Regions from separate parts of the Homo sapiens genome. Here region 1 is linked to region 2. Evidence: promoter capture Hi-C in 16 types of primary human blood cells and fetal thymus (Javierre and others, 2016). All regions are on one chromosome and are shown on one strand. Each heading gives the region's core, a stretch centred on a gene start or on the middle of the fragment in contact. The rest is flanking DNA. Distances are from core to core; before and after follow the strand shown.

Region 1 (6,319 bases), core at 3,167-5,666, 270 kb after region 2:
GTAGAGACAGGGTTTCTGCATGTTGGTCAGGCTGGTCTTGAACTCCCAACCTCAGGTGATCTACCCACCTCGGCCTCCCAAACCTGAGAGGCGGAGGTTGCAGTGAGCCGAGATCACGACGTTGCACACCAGCCTGGGCAACAAGAGCGAAACTGTCTGAAAAAAAAACGTAACTTTCAATGAGTTTTGGCAAATGTGTACAATTGCGTAACTATCACCTCAGTTAAGATAAGGACAATTCCATCACCCCGAAAAGGTTCTTCATACCTTTGTGTAGTCAGTCATGCTCCCCTTACCCCCTCACCGACCTGATGTCCATCTCAGTAATTTGGCCTTTTCCAGAATTTTATATGAATAAAATCATGTAAAATGTAGCTTTTTTTTTTCTTTTTTTTGAGACAAGGTCTCACTCCTGTTGCCCAGGCTGGAGTGTAGTGGCAAGATTTCAGCTCACTGCAACCTTGACTTCCCAGGTTCTTGTGATCCTCCCACTTCAGCCTCCCGAGTAGTTGGGACTACAGGCACAACCGCCACACCCAGCTAACATTCTGTATTTTTATAGAGACAGAGTTTTGTCATGTTGCCCAGGCTGGTCTTGAACTAGGCTCAAGCAATCCACCTACATGAACCTCTCAAAACGCTAGGATTTCAGGCTTGAGCCACCGCGCCCAGCTTGTGCTAAACTTTTAAACGTTATTTCCTTTACTATCTCAGCTTCCTCCTCCTCCACTCAGCCTTCTCTGCGAATTGCTTTATATGGACAAAACTGGGACCAGCAGCAACCTCCACAGCTGCCCCAACCCCACCACCAGACCCTTGTGTGACAACAGTCCCCAGGGTCATGGGTCTGGATCGTTGACATTCTAATCTTATTGGTTCTCTGCAACACTTTCTTTGGGTTATTTCTCTCTTTTTTTTCCCCCACCTCTTAGGACACAGAAGCTCTTTCTTCAGATCCCCCCCACTTATAGCCCCCTCCTCTCCTCCTCACCTGTTGGCCCTCTGCCCTGGCAGCCTGGTTCCCCAGGGAATCCATGCACAAGGGCCTCCCTCCCTTCCATGCACTCCTCCCCTTCTGCACAATCTTCCTCCTCTCTTCTCATCGTCTGTCTTCTATCACCTTGTTTTCTGTGCCCAGGCCCTCTCGTGATCTCATTTGCCACAGATACACCCTGCTGCCCAGCTCCTGCCCGCAGGCATCATTTGATCGATGGGTTTGAGGTTTGTTGACAGTTGGGGTTTTTCTCTCTCAGTGAGGAAGAAGCAAGAAACCTCAACACTGCAATTTCCTCAACTCCCAGTGACGGTGACAAATTCTGAGGCTCCAGGGCGGGGGCTGTGTCTTCACATGCCCTGTGGAGTGTTGTCCTCACAGTGGTAAATAAATAAGGAGGTGAAAAGGTAAGACAAGAGGGAGCAGCATCTGTGCTTAGGGGCAGGGCTCAATTTGTCTGATGTGGGAGGACCTCAAAGGTGTCTCTCTTCTCACCTAGGCCAGACATTTGCAAGCTGACTGCCCTAAAGGAGCTGTACACACCTTCTTCATCCACCATGTGCCTTAGCAAAGGGTCACACCCAGGGAACTGAAGCTCTCTCTGTGTCTCTAGGGGTGGGAAGGCAGTGTCTGTGGTTATCCACCTCCATTCAGAGCCAAGTGAGTTCAGACTGCTGGGTTCTCGTCCTAAACTCTTTCACCGACTACCCCTGAGGCCTTGAGCAAGTGACCTAACCTCCTCCTCGTGCTTCTGTTTCCCCATCTTTACAATGACAGTCGTCATGGGGACAAATTCACTGGGTTGTAGTACAGATGGAATGAGAGCAAGCCGTCGCGCAGAAGACGTGCTCAACAAATGGAAACCACTGCTATCATTTTCATTCTTATTATCTCAATTTAGGAAACAAGGATCCCGACATTGCAAGCTATTCCAGGTGAAGCTAAAAAGAAGATAATCCCCAAGTCTCTGGGTAAAGAAACTCACTGCCACCCTCAATCAAATCAAAGCCAGATTCCGTGATGTTGGTAGTGAAGGGGAAGTCCCCCCAGGGGTGGGGTGGAGTGAGGTGTGGCTTTCCTTACCCATTGGTGGTACCAGTGAGACGAGGGAGAAATCTCCCAGGAAAGGTGAGCCTTGGAGGGCAAAACACAGCCAAGAGATCTAACCGCTTTTCCCATGTGGAGAGTCTCCTGCCAGCCAGAGCCAATCTCAGGAAATATGAGTTCGATTTTATTAAGGAAACCAACACGTTTCCTTCTGTCTAATGTAGCCTCTGTGTTATTCACATTGTTGGCTCCCAGGATGTGAAATGTCATCCTAGTACAGAACCCAGAAAAGAGTGGGCTGAATGTCTCTTTAGAGAGCTTTAGCCAACTATTTAAAAAAGTGGAGTCTACCTTCCTAACAGAGTTAATAATCACATGCCTTTATAGGAAGCAGTAGTAATAGTTGTGGTAATAATAACAGCTGACTTTTTCTCTTAGCAGTTGCAGTATAAGGTTCATAACCATCCTGTTAAGATGGTATTATTTATAGTCATCACTCAGTATCTTGCTGGGATTGGCTCCAGCACCCCCTTGGATACCAAAATCCACGGATACTCAAGTTTCTGATATAAAATGGTATAGTATTTGCATATAACCTAGGCACATCCTTCCATATACTTTTTTGTTTCTTTGTTTGTTTGTAACAGAGTCTTACTCCTTCGCCCAGGCTGGAGTGCAGTGTCATGATCATAGCTCACTGCAGCCTCAAACTCCTGTGCTAAAGCAATCCTCCTGCCTCAGCCTCCTGAGTAGCTGAGACTACAGGTGCACCACAGCACCAGGCTGATTTTTTTTTTAAGTTCTTATAGAGACAGGGTCTTACTAATGTTTACGAGGCTGATCTCAAACTCCTGGGGCCTTAGGCGATCCTCCTGCCTTGGCCTCCCAAAGTACCGTTATTACAGATATGAGACACTGTGCCTGGCCAACTTTCCTATACTTTAAATCATCTCTAGATAACTTATCATGTCAAATATTAATACAATGTAAATTCCATGCAAATGGTTGTTATACTATATTGTTTTTATCTGTATTATTTTTGTTGTATTGTTGTTTTTATTGTTGGGTTTTTTTCAATATTTTCTATCTGTGGTTGGTTGAATCCACAGATGTGGAAACTGTGGATATGGAAAGCTGACTGTATTAGAATTTTATAGAACAAGAAACTAAGGCTTCATTAATTTAAATAGCCTGCTAGGATCATAAAGATGGGAGGCATTCTCCAACCCTTGTTTGATTCTGGATTTGAACTTGGGTCAGCTTGAATTCAACGCCAGAGTGCCTAACAGTATTTTGTCTCTTAGAGGAGTCTAGATTGCAACTGCATTTCAACCTAGTAAGAAAAGCATGTATAAGATCTGCTTTCTTTCTGATCTCCTCTGGGTATTTGTTTTCTTATGAAAGTCTGAGAAAGTCGCAAAGTTCAGCCCCAAAGAATGAACAAGTGGTTCATTTCTGCCCCCTAGAGGAGGTAAGGAAGGTCATGGTTAAAATGAGTGTTCAGAATCGCAATAGATCCAGCCCTGCAATAGAGCCAAACCTAAAAACAAACTACTTTCAGTTCATGAAAGGGAGGTGATAATGGGTTAGGGATTATCTGGATCAAGAGTGAGAACAGTGTATCAGGGTCCTGCCTGGATATATACTGGATATATATATATATATAGTGTGTGTGGAGATATATATATATATATAGTGTGTGTGTGTGTGTGTGTGTGTGTGTGTGTGTGTATATATATACAGCTTGCATATATATATATACAGCTTGCATATATATATATACAGCTTGCATATATATATACAGCTTGCATATATATATACAGCTTGCATATATATATATATACAGCTTGCATATATATATATATACAGCTTGCATATATATATATATATATACAGCTTGCATATATATATATATACAGCTTGCATATATATATATATATATATACAGCTTGCATATATATATATATATATACAGCTTGCAAATATATATATATATATTTACAAGTATATATATATATATATATATATATATATATATATATATATATACACTGTTCTATCAGGGTCCTGAATAGACTCATTCTAGTCTAGTATTCAGACTAGAACTTTCATCTTTAACATGTGCCCCAAATGATTCTTTCACTAAGGCAACTTTGAGAAACAGGTGCATATAATTTATTCATCCAGCAAGGGCTTGAATAACACCTTCCATCCACAAGCCACTGTTACTAAGGCATTTGCTGGACCCCAAGGGAGTGGAGTCCACATCCCTGTCCTGAAGAAGCTTGGTCAATTACACTATCTCTCAGGGCCTTGCCTTTGTTATTGAGAAAATGGCTCATCTCTAAATGGTGTGAGAGCCAGGAGACCCATGTTGGACGTGCAGACAGGGTGCACTTTACTTAATCTCCTTGGACCTCAGTTTCCTTGTCTACAACATCAGAGGGTGAATACTCATCAAGCTTCCTCCTGTGGCAAGATTCTGAAGTTCCCAGGCCCTGTGGAGAGCGTACAGGGAAACCTTACTTAGGTGACCTGCTTAGGAGTCTGGTCTCCATGACTGTGCAGATCCACCTCCTGCCAAATGGCTCATGACAATCCCAGGAGCAGGCTGTGGTCTCCCTGATCCTGAGGTTCAGAGCTTTTGGTGTTCCCGTCACTGGCATTCACGCCACACTGTAGGAGCCTTCTTTTCATTGATGTAAACTCTGTTCACAAAAAGGGTCTGGGGAAAATAAAGTTGATTTGGAAAAAGAAATTTCTCTAGAAACCCAAATAAGGCTTCTTATTTCTAGAAACCCCCAAATAAGACTTCCTGAAATGTGGAGTCAGATGAACCAGCCTTTAAATCCTAGCTCTGTTACTCAATAGCTGTGTGATTTGAGGCAAGTCATCCATTTTAAACTTGGTCTCTTCATCTGTGGAATGGACATAAAAAGAGTACCCAAAGCTGGGTGTGGTGGCATGCACCTGTGTTCTCAGTGACTTGGCAAGAGGCTGAGGGAGGAAGGTGACTTGAGCCCAGGAATTTGAGGCCGTAGTGCACTACAATCATGCCTATGAATTGCCACTGCATTCCGGCTTGGGCAACATAGTGAGACCTCATCTCTAAAAATATATAGGTATAATAGAATAGTTTGTATCTCACTGAGTCATGGTGAAGATTAAATGAGACTAGACTAATACCTGGTGCATAATAGGTATGCTGAAATATTTCCTTTTTTTTTTTTTTTTTTTTTTGAGACGGAGTCTCGCCCTGTCACCCAGGCTAGAGTGTCGTGGCGCGATCTCGGCTCACTGCAAGCTCCACCTCCTGGGTTCACGCCATTCTCCTGCCTCAGCCTCCCGAGTAGCTGGGATTACAGGCGCCTACCACCACGCTCGGCTAATTTTTTTGTATTTTTTAGTAGATACGGGGTTTCACCATGTTAGCCAGGATGGTCTCGATCTCCTGACCTCGTGATCCGCCTGCCTCGGCCTCCCAAAGTGCTGGGATTACGGGCATGAGCCACTGCGCCCAGCCTATTTCCTATTGTTATTACGATTAATACTGCTGATGCTAGTTTTACCTTCAGAGACTGTTACAATTGGAAAATAAAGAAACAGTTCATAGTCAGGACCCCACCCAAGGATTTAGCACCCAAATCACTCCAGAGAACTCCAGCTCGACCTTGGCAGTCATCCAGGATGCCACATGTCCTCTCACTCTTGTTTAAAGATGTCCTAATAGAGCCAAACTTCTTTTGCCAAATTTCTCAAAATGAGTCCTTTAGTGGATCCTTGGGCTTATAGTACCACTACCACATCATCCAAGGGGCATGGCCATCTGGGTTTGAGGTTACAGAAAAAGAGAGGGGCCTAGGACCAGGGCCAAGGCAAGCTCATAGACACTCCTTGCAGGAGCAAGGTCAACAAGCAAGACCCATGAGGACTGAAATAAGGATCTACTTGACACTCAGATTGACTGCATTTGGAGAGCCAATAATTGCTGCCTTTGCCCTTATAATAAACTACAGCTTTTGAAGAAAATTTAAAAACAAAATAAAATCCACAAAAACATGCAGGCATTGCTGGGCAGCAGCAAACAAACATACTGGATTGTTCAGAAAGACTGCTAAGATCTTAAGAGCAAATTGTTTATAAACTGCAGAGAAAAGTTGTAATAAGAACTGGCTTCAGCACTAAAACACAGCTTTTGATTCTCCACCATCTCACTCCAACCCAAGAGAATAGCAGCAGCTGTTAGGTGTAAGGGAGCCTGTGGGCCTATTTAGGGGT
Region 2 (6,368 bases), core at 2,497-4,996:
AGCTAACTCTAGGATGAAGCTGTGACTAGGCTGGAGTTGCTTCCTTGAAGATGGGACTCCTTGGGTATCAAGACCTATGCCACATCACACTGGGGCTAGGGAAGTAGGTGATGCCAGCCCTCAAGTCTGTCTTCAGCCAGGGACTTGAGAAGTTATATTGGGCAGTGGCTCCAATCTGTGGACCAGTATTTCAGCTTTCCCTGAAGATCAGGCAGGGTGCCATTCATTGTCTTTCTCTCCTAGCCCCCTCAGGAAAGAAGGACTATATTTGTACTGTACCCTAGGGGTTCTGGAAGGGAAAACATGGAATCAGGATTCTATAGACTGATAGGCCCTATCCACAAGGGCCATGACTGGGAAAAGGTATGGGAGCAGAAGGAGAATTGGGATTTTAGGGTGCAGCTACGCTCACCCTAAACTTTTGGTGGCCTGGGGCATGTCTTGAGGCCCAGACTGTTAACCAGGCTCTGCTGGCCTGTTTACTCGTCACCACCTCTGCACCTGCTGTCTTGAGACTCCATCCAGCCCCAGGCACGCCACCTGCTCCTGAGCCTCCACTATCTCCCTGTGACGGGTGAACTTCGTGTACTGTGTCTCGGGTCCATATATGAATTGTGAGCAGGGTTCATCTATTTTAAACACAGATGTTTACAAAATAAAGATTATTTCAAACCACCGGTGTGGCTGCCTGGATGAGTCCTTGGGGGTAGGTCTCACTCAGACCCTGGCAGTGATGTGGGAGGGAGAGAGGCAGTGCTGGTAGAAGCAGCTCCAGAAGCAAAGGCAACAGCAGTAGAGTGACCACGGAAGCGGCAAACATTGTCTTCCCTTCTCTACCTTCCCTAGTGCCACCTGCAGGGAGGCCCAAAGCAAAGCCCCGTTGCCCTGCATTGGGCTGGCACTGCAGAAATAAGATGAAACACAGTTATCGAGAGGATGCTGAACATCTATGAGCAGGTTTTAAAGCCAAGATGAGTCTCATCTGTTTGTGTGGGTCAGGAACGGGTCTTCCTGAAGGCATGAGGTGGGACTGGATAATCTTTCAGATTTGTGATTGGATACCTCGGGGGAGCAGAGGCAGACTGGGATCTCAGGACTGCAGGTATTTCATACTTTGGGATATGGAATTGATGGAGGTGGAGAATATTGGGGATAAGGACTGAATGAAGAAAGGAGTAGGACAACGCAGGACAACAGTAGTCTTAAGATTTTCACTACACTTTACCCGGCACTAGTGATAGATAAACTCTTCTGACCCTAACCATCACCGTGTGAGATGGGGAGGGTGGTTATCTACCCAGGTCCCACAGGCAAGGAAACAGATGATCAGAGAACTTAAAGATTTGGCCGGGTGCAGTGGCTCATGCCTGTAATCCCAACTCTGGGAGGCCGAGGCAGGAGGACTGCTTGAGCCCAAGAGTTTGGGACCAGCCTGGGCAACATAGTGAGACACTGTCTCTAGAAAAAATTAGCTGAGTGTGGTGGCTTGTGAGGCTGAGGCCAGTGGATCACTTGAGCCCAGAAGGTCAAGGCTGCAGTTGCACCATTGCACTCCTGCCTGGGTGACAGAGAAAGACCCTGTCTCAATAAAAAGAGCTTAAAGATTTGCCTAAGGGTCCGAAGTAACAGTGGCAGAATTGTGGTTGTAAACCACTGAATTGGAATCACTGGAGGGCAAAGCTTTGGCATCTCTAGAAAAATTCCTACAAACAATTCTCATTTGCAGTCAGAATTAAGAACCACCAACCCAGGCTTTCTGCCTAAGCCAGTGCTGTGTCCAGAGCAAGCACTGTCCCACAGAAAGCCATAAGAATCATACGCTGCTTAGTGTATGCTTAAAGTTGTAAGCTTTTGGAAAGCGAGGCCAGTTTGAGGTAAATTTGGAGACAGAGATATTTTAGGAGAGCCTCACCAAGTATATTCCATTAGGAAAGGTGAGAACCCTGGGAGTCTGAAGGGTCCAAGGTCACACCAGGAGAAAAGGGATGGCATGTACCTAAGGAAGAGGGAACCCCCACACTCCTCATCTTGGGAACTCCCATGGCCTTCTTGAAGAAGGCTTGCAAAAGAGCAGAGAATAAGAGGTGTCTCTGGAGGCCCAGAGAGTACTAGGGGGAAGCTCTAGGTATGCACATAAATCCGGCAAGTTACAGTTCTGCCCACTATCAGTGCCAAGTCCTTGTGACTCAGTGGCTTGGTGGGGACTCTTTCTTATTGGTTGCTTCTAGGAACTCCACCCAGCTTCAGCAGGGGACACACTTCCCTCTACACTTCCTGTCACTCCTTCTGTCCACTTAGGTAATGGAAACTTGTTTTTAGGGAGCAGCCAGCTGAGACACATGGTCCCTGTATACTTGAACAGCCATGGAAAAGCTGCAAGGCAGCTTGGCGCTCCCTGGTGATAATTACTTCATCTCATCTCAACAAATCAGATTCTCAAGACCAGCTGCTCCCCGGACTTGCTTATTCTTTGTTCCAAGGAGACAGTTCCCAATGGATGTGCCCCTGTGAAAACACCCTAGTAAACATTTGCTTTGTTATTGAAATTTCACTCTAAAATCCCAAAGCTAGGTCAAGCCCCATTGCTAGTTTTACTGATGAAGAAATCAAGGCATTTTTAAAAGAGTAACTTGTTGAGTTGGCGGGTGCTTGGGTCTTTTCGGTTTCTGTGGCTTCCAGGGGTGGGCCTCTGAGATGGCCCTTAGCAGATGTCCTGCGATGCACTGCACGCCTCTTGTTGAAAGCATCAGGGGTGACCTGCCTGCGTCTGGAACCACAGCAGCTTCAACTTCCTCCACACACTTCCTTCTGTGGGAAGGTGACCAGCACAAACCCGCTCTGAAAAGTCTTGGGGACCAAATCTCTGTCTGAGAGGAAGGTAGGTGCAGTTCATCCACTAAGTTTATCCACCTGTTCTGTGACTCCTCTTCACCATTCTCCCAGCAACGACTGAGCCTCATGACTTGGGGGCTGGGGGATGAGGTGGAGGTGGGGGATATAATATAGGAGATGGTACAGTGCAGGGGCAGAGGCTGGTGTGTTCTCCAGGACAAGTGGCACCACGCACTGAAAGACTTTTCAAGATAAACACAACTTTGTCTCTTCAGCCTGGCAAGAGCTGAGGCACTGAAAACTTCTTTTTTCCCCTAGAAAATGACACACTCTCCTCCTAAGGGTCCCTTTGATTTTGTCCTGGTGGAAAGCAACAAAGAGAAGAACGTGAACAGGAATATGTATATTTCAGTTGTCATCTGAGTCCCATGGATAGGAGGCTCAATTCTCTTCTTCATCTTTCAGATCTCCGCAGACCCTGCCCTCTCACTGTACAATTCAGAGATTGACACTCAGCAGGCATTCAATAAACGTCTGTGTCAAATGAGAACAACTTGATGGGGCAAGTAGGAGTCAATCCTGCATCCCTCCCTCCCTTTTTTTCCTCTCCATTCGACCTTTAGGGCTCTGGTTTCCTGTAAGCAGTGAATTATTTACCTCTGCTCATAGATATCAAATTGGCCCTTCCCAGGTTGCAGCAGGGTGGGGCGGGGAGGCGGCCTTGTTCAGTCTGTTAATAGGAGGAGCAACCTCCTTGTTCAAACAGCACTTACAGGTGGGGACCTGTTTTTGCTAAGTCATCCTGGGGATGCTCAAAGCTCCATTGTTAGATCCTTTCTGTCCTCCTTCCTGGCTCCTCCTTCCTCCCCACCCCTCTAATAGGCTCATAAGTGGGCTCAGGCCTCTCTGCGGGGCTCACTCTGCGCTTCACCATGGCTTTCATTGCCAAGTCCTTCTATGACCTCAGTGCCATCAGCCTGGATGGGGAGAAGGTAGATTTCAATACGTTCCGGGGCAGGGCCGTGCTGATTGAGAATGTGGCTTCGCTCTGAGGCACAACCACCCGGGACTTCACCCAGCTCAACGAGCTGCAATGCCGCTTTCCCAGGCGCCTGGTGGTCCTTGGCTTCCCTTGCAACCAATTTGGACATCAGGTGAGGGGTCCCTCCTTGTAATGCACCAAAAGTGTTGGGTTGGTGTAGCTCAGGTGGGATAAAAGGAGAGGCTGAATGACCATGTTTTGGAGTGTCTGGAATAATGGGGTATGTTTTGTTAAGCTAGGTCTTTAGGTGCATGTGACATACCAAGAGAAGGTATATATTTTTTAAGATTAAACACTGAGGCTGTGTGATTTTTATAGTTTACTGTCTTTCTACTATATTACTCCATGAGGGCTGGTTCCAGGTCTGTGTTTCTCTCCACTGTGTCCTCAGTGCCTAGGGCACAGAAAGCACTCATTAAATATTTGTTGAATAAATGAGTGGAGAAAGTAGAGGCCAGGAATCAAACAAGAATTGGACAGACTCAAGAGACCTTAGCTCTAGCTGGACTTGGTTTTGCTATTTAATGGCTCTGTGCCCTCGGAAAGGGCGCTTCATTTTTCGGTTTAGTTTCCTCATCTGTAAATTGGGGATAATACCACTTAGCTCATAGGATTATTATGATGTTTAGGGGACAGGATATACAAAAGTAACTTGAAAAATATAAAGTACTATGCAAATGCAAGCAAACTGTTATTTAGATTGAGGATGATTTTTGTTGGTTTAAATTAGCCAAGTGGAAAGAAAATAAGCAGGAAAGAGAAAGGTTTTCAAAAGGCACGTGCCTCTGGGCATTACATGCACCTATTTCTGATTAATGGGTCAAGCTGTTATAGATCTTCAGCCCACACACCTCGAGTTCTCTTTTAGGGATTCTTCTATTTCCACCTATGATTTTAACGTACAAGCAGGGAGAATGAACCCAAGCGAACCCTCTCGTTATAATCCCCTTAGTTCAATTCACAGTGGTATGAAGGTGAGGAAGACAGGAAAGCAGGAAGGCTGAAGCATCACTGGCTGTGACAAACCTGAGCCCAAACTGTTCACTGCTCTCACTGTTCTTCCCTAAGTTTTCTGTCTGGCCTTTTCTAGAGCAGGAGAGACAGAAGTAGCAAACCCTCTTTCGAGATGTCCCTCCAGCCCCAGAAGTACCTCCAGCCTCACACCATCTCTTCAGCCTAGCAAGTTGCTGGAGGGAGTCTATAACCTACCAGGAGCCAGCCAGCCATTTGTATCAAGAAATAGAAATCTGCCAGGGTACAGTGGCTCACACCTATAATCCCAGCGCTTTGGGAGGCTAAGGTAGGCAGATTGCTTGAGCTCAGGAGTTCAAGATTAGCCTGAGCAACATGGTGAAACCTTGTTTCTACAAAAAATTGCAAAAATTAGCCAGGCATGGTGGCATGTGCCTGTAGTCACAGCTACTTGGGACGCTGAAGTAGCAGGATCGCCTGAGCCTGGGAAGTCGAGGCTGCAGTGAGCTATGATTGTGCCACCGCACCCCAGCCTAGGTGACAGAGTGAGGCCCTGTCTCAGGAAAAAAAACAGAAACAAAAACAGAGAAGTCCACTAGAGATCAGCTCTGGGCTCATGATGTCATGATGGCCTGGAACTGACTGAACTAGTTAGTTCTCACAGGTCAGAAGCAGGAACTTTCTCCCAGAGGAAGGTATCTGTCTGTTAAATTGGAAAGGTAGAGGTGGAAAAGAAGGGTTCCCATAGGCCTTTTGGATTGTCATGAATGGTGATGCTGAGAGGGAATAGGACAGGGATGGCAGTGGGGAGGGAAAGGCAGGGACCAGGTTTTGAGCCAAAGCATGCGTAGCTGAGAGCAGTGAGTGGATAGGAGGTGCAGCAGTCTTTGGGTAGCAGCCTACTCAAGAAAAGAATGATAATTACATACTCACAATCTTTAGCCATCAAGCACTTATTTCCTCAACTCCCCCTCCCCCTGGCCTATTGCCAAACCCTAAATCCTGTATCCTATTTACTTCATGCCTGTTGGTTACTAAGTAGTTCCATTTAGAGTACACATTCATTGTTGCCTTGAACTTGCTCTGCTGTTATGGCACCTGAAAACTAGATGTTCTTGGATGGGGGTCTTCCTTCATCAAAGCTTCTTCCCATTTGTACTTCAGTTCTAGGACAAGGCAAGAAGAAAGCAAGAAGCTGTAAATCCCATTCCTCTGGGTCTCAATTTCACCCTCAGTTCAAGGAGCTGAGTAGGCAGAGGCAAAGGCTATACTCAACACACGTGCAATTGAAAGCAGGCGAGGCAAAACCAGGGCAGAGGAAAGGAAAGGGGTGTGTGTGTAGGTATGGATTTATGGGTAGGTGGGTCGGTAGGTTAGTTGAAGAGGAGGTTCTAAGCAGTATAACCTAAGCCTCTTTTCTCTTTCTTCTGCTTCAAACACCTTAAGAACTGCTCAGGGTAGACTGGAGACAAAAGCAACAGCTCAGAAGTGCTAAATCTTGAAGAGCAGCCAAAGCATGGGC

Evidence for each region. The method cuts DNA at HindIII sites, captures the fragments that hold promoters and counts their contacts. A CHiCAGO score of 5 or more calls a contact.
Region 1: a contact is called between a fragment that was not itself captured here and the fragment with the promoter of GPX2 in region 2, in 1 of 17 cell types (erythroblasts). The highest score is 6.2, in erythroblasts.

Annotation. Positions count from the first base shown.
Region 1 is chr14:64,668,892-64,675,210 of GRCh38, reverse strand. No RefSeq gene overlaps it. Among named protein-coding and RNA genes, the nearest start is that of PLEKHG3, 32 kb to the left of the region's middle. The HindIII fragment of the contact is 178 bases long and covers 4,328-4,505 here.
Region 2 is chr14:64,940,123-64,946,490 of GRCh38, reverse strand. It overlaps GPX2 (glutathione peroxidase 2), which reads left to right and starts at 3,746. Exons shown (of 2, transcript NM_002083.4): 1 at 3,746-3,986. The coding sequence starts at 3,765. All of the region lies in intron 3 of CHURC1-FNTB (CHURC1-FNTB readthrough), which reads right to left. RAB15 (RAB15, member RAS oncogene family) reads left to right here. Exons shown (of 7, transcript NM_001308154.2): 7 at 1-675. The HindIII fragment of the contact is 4,140 bases long and covers 1,851-5,990 here.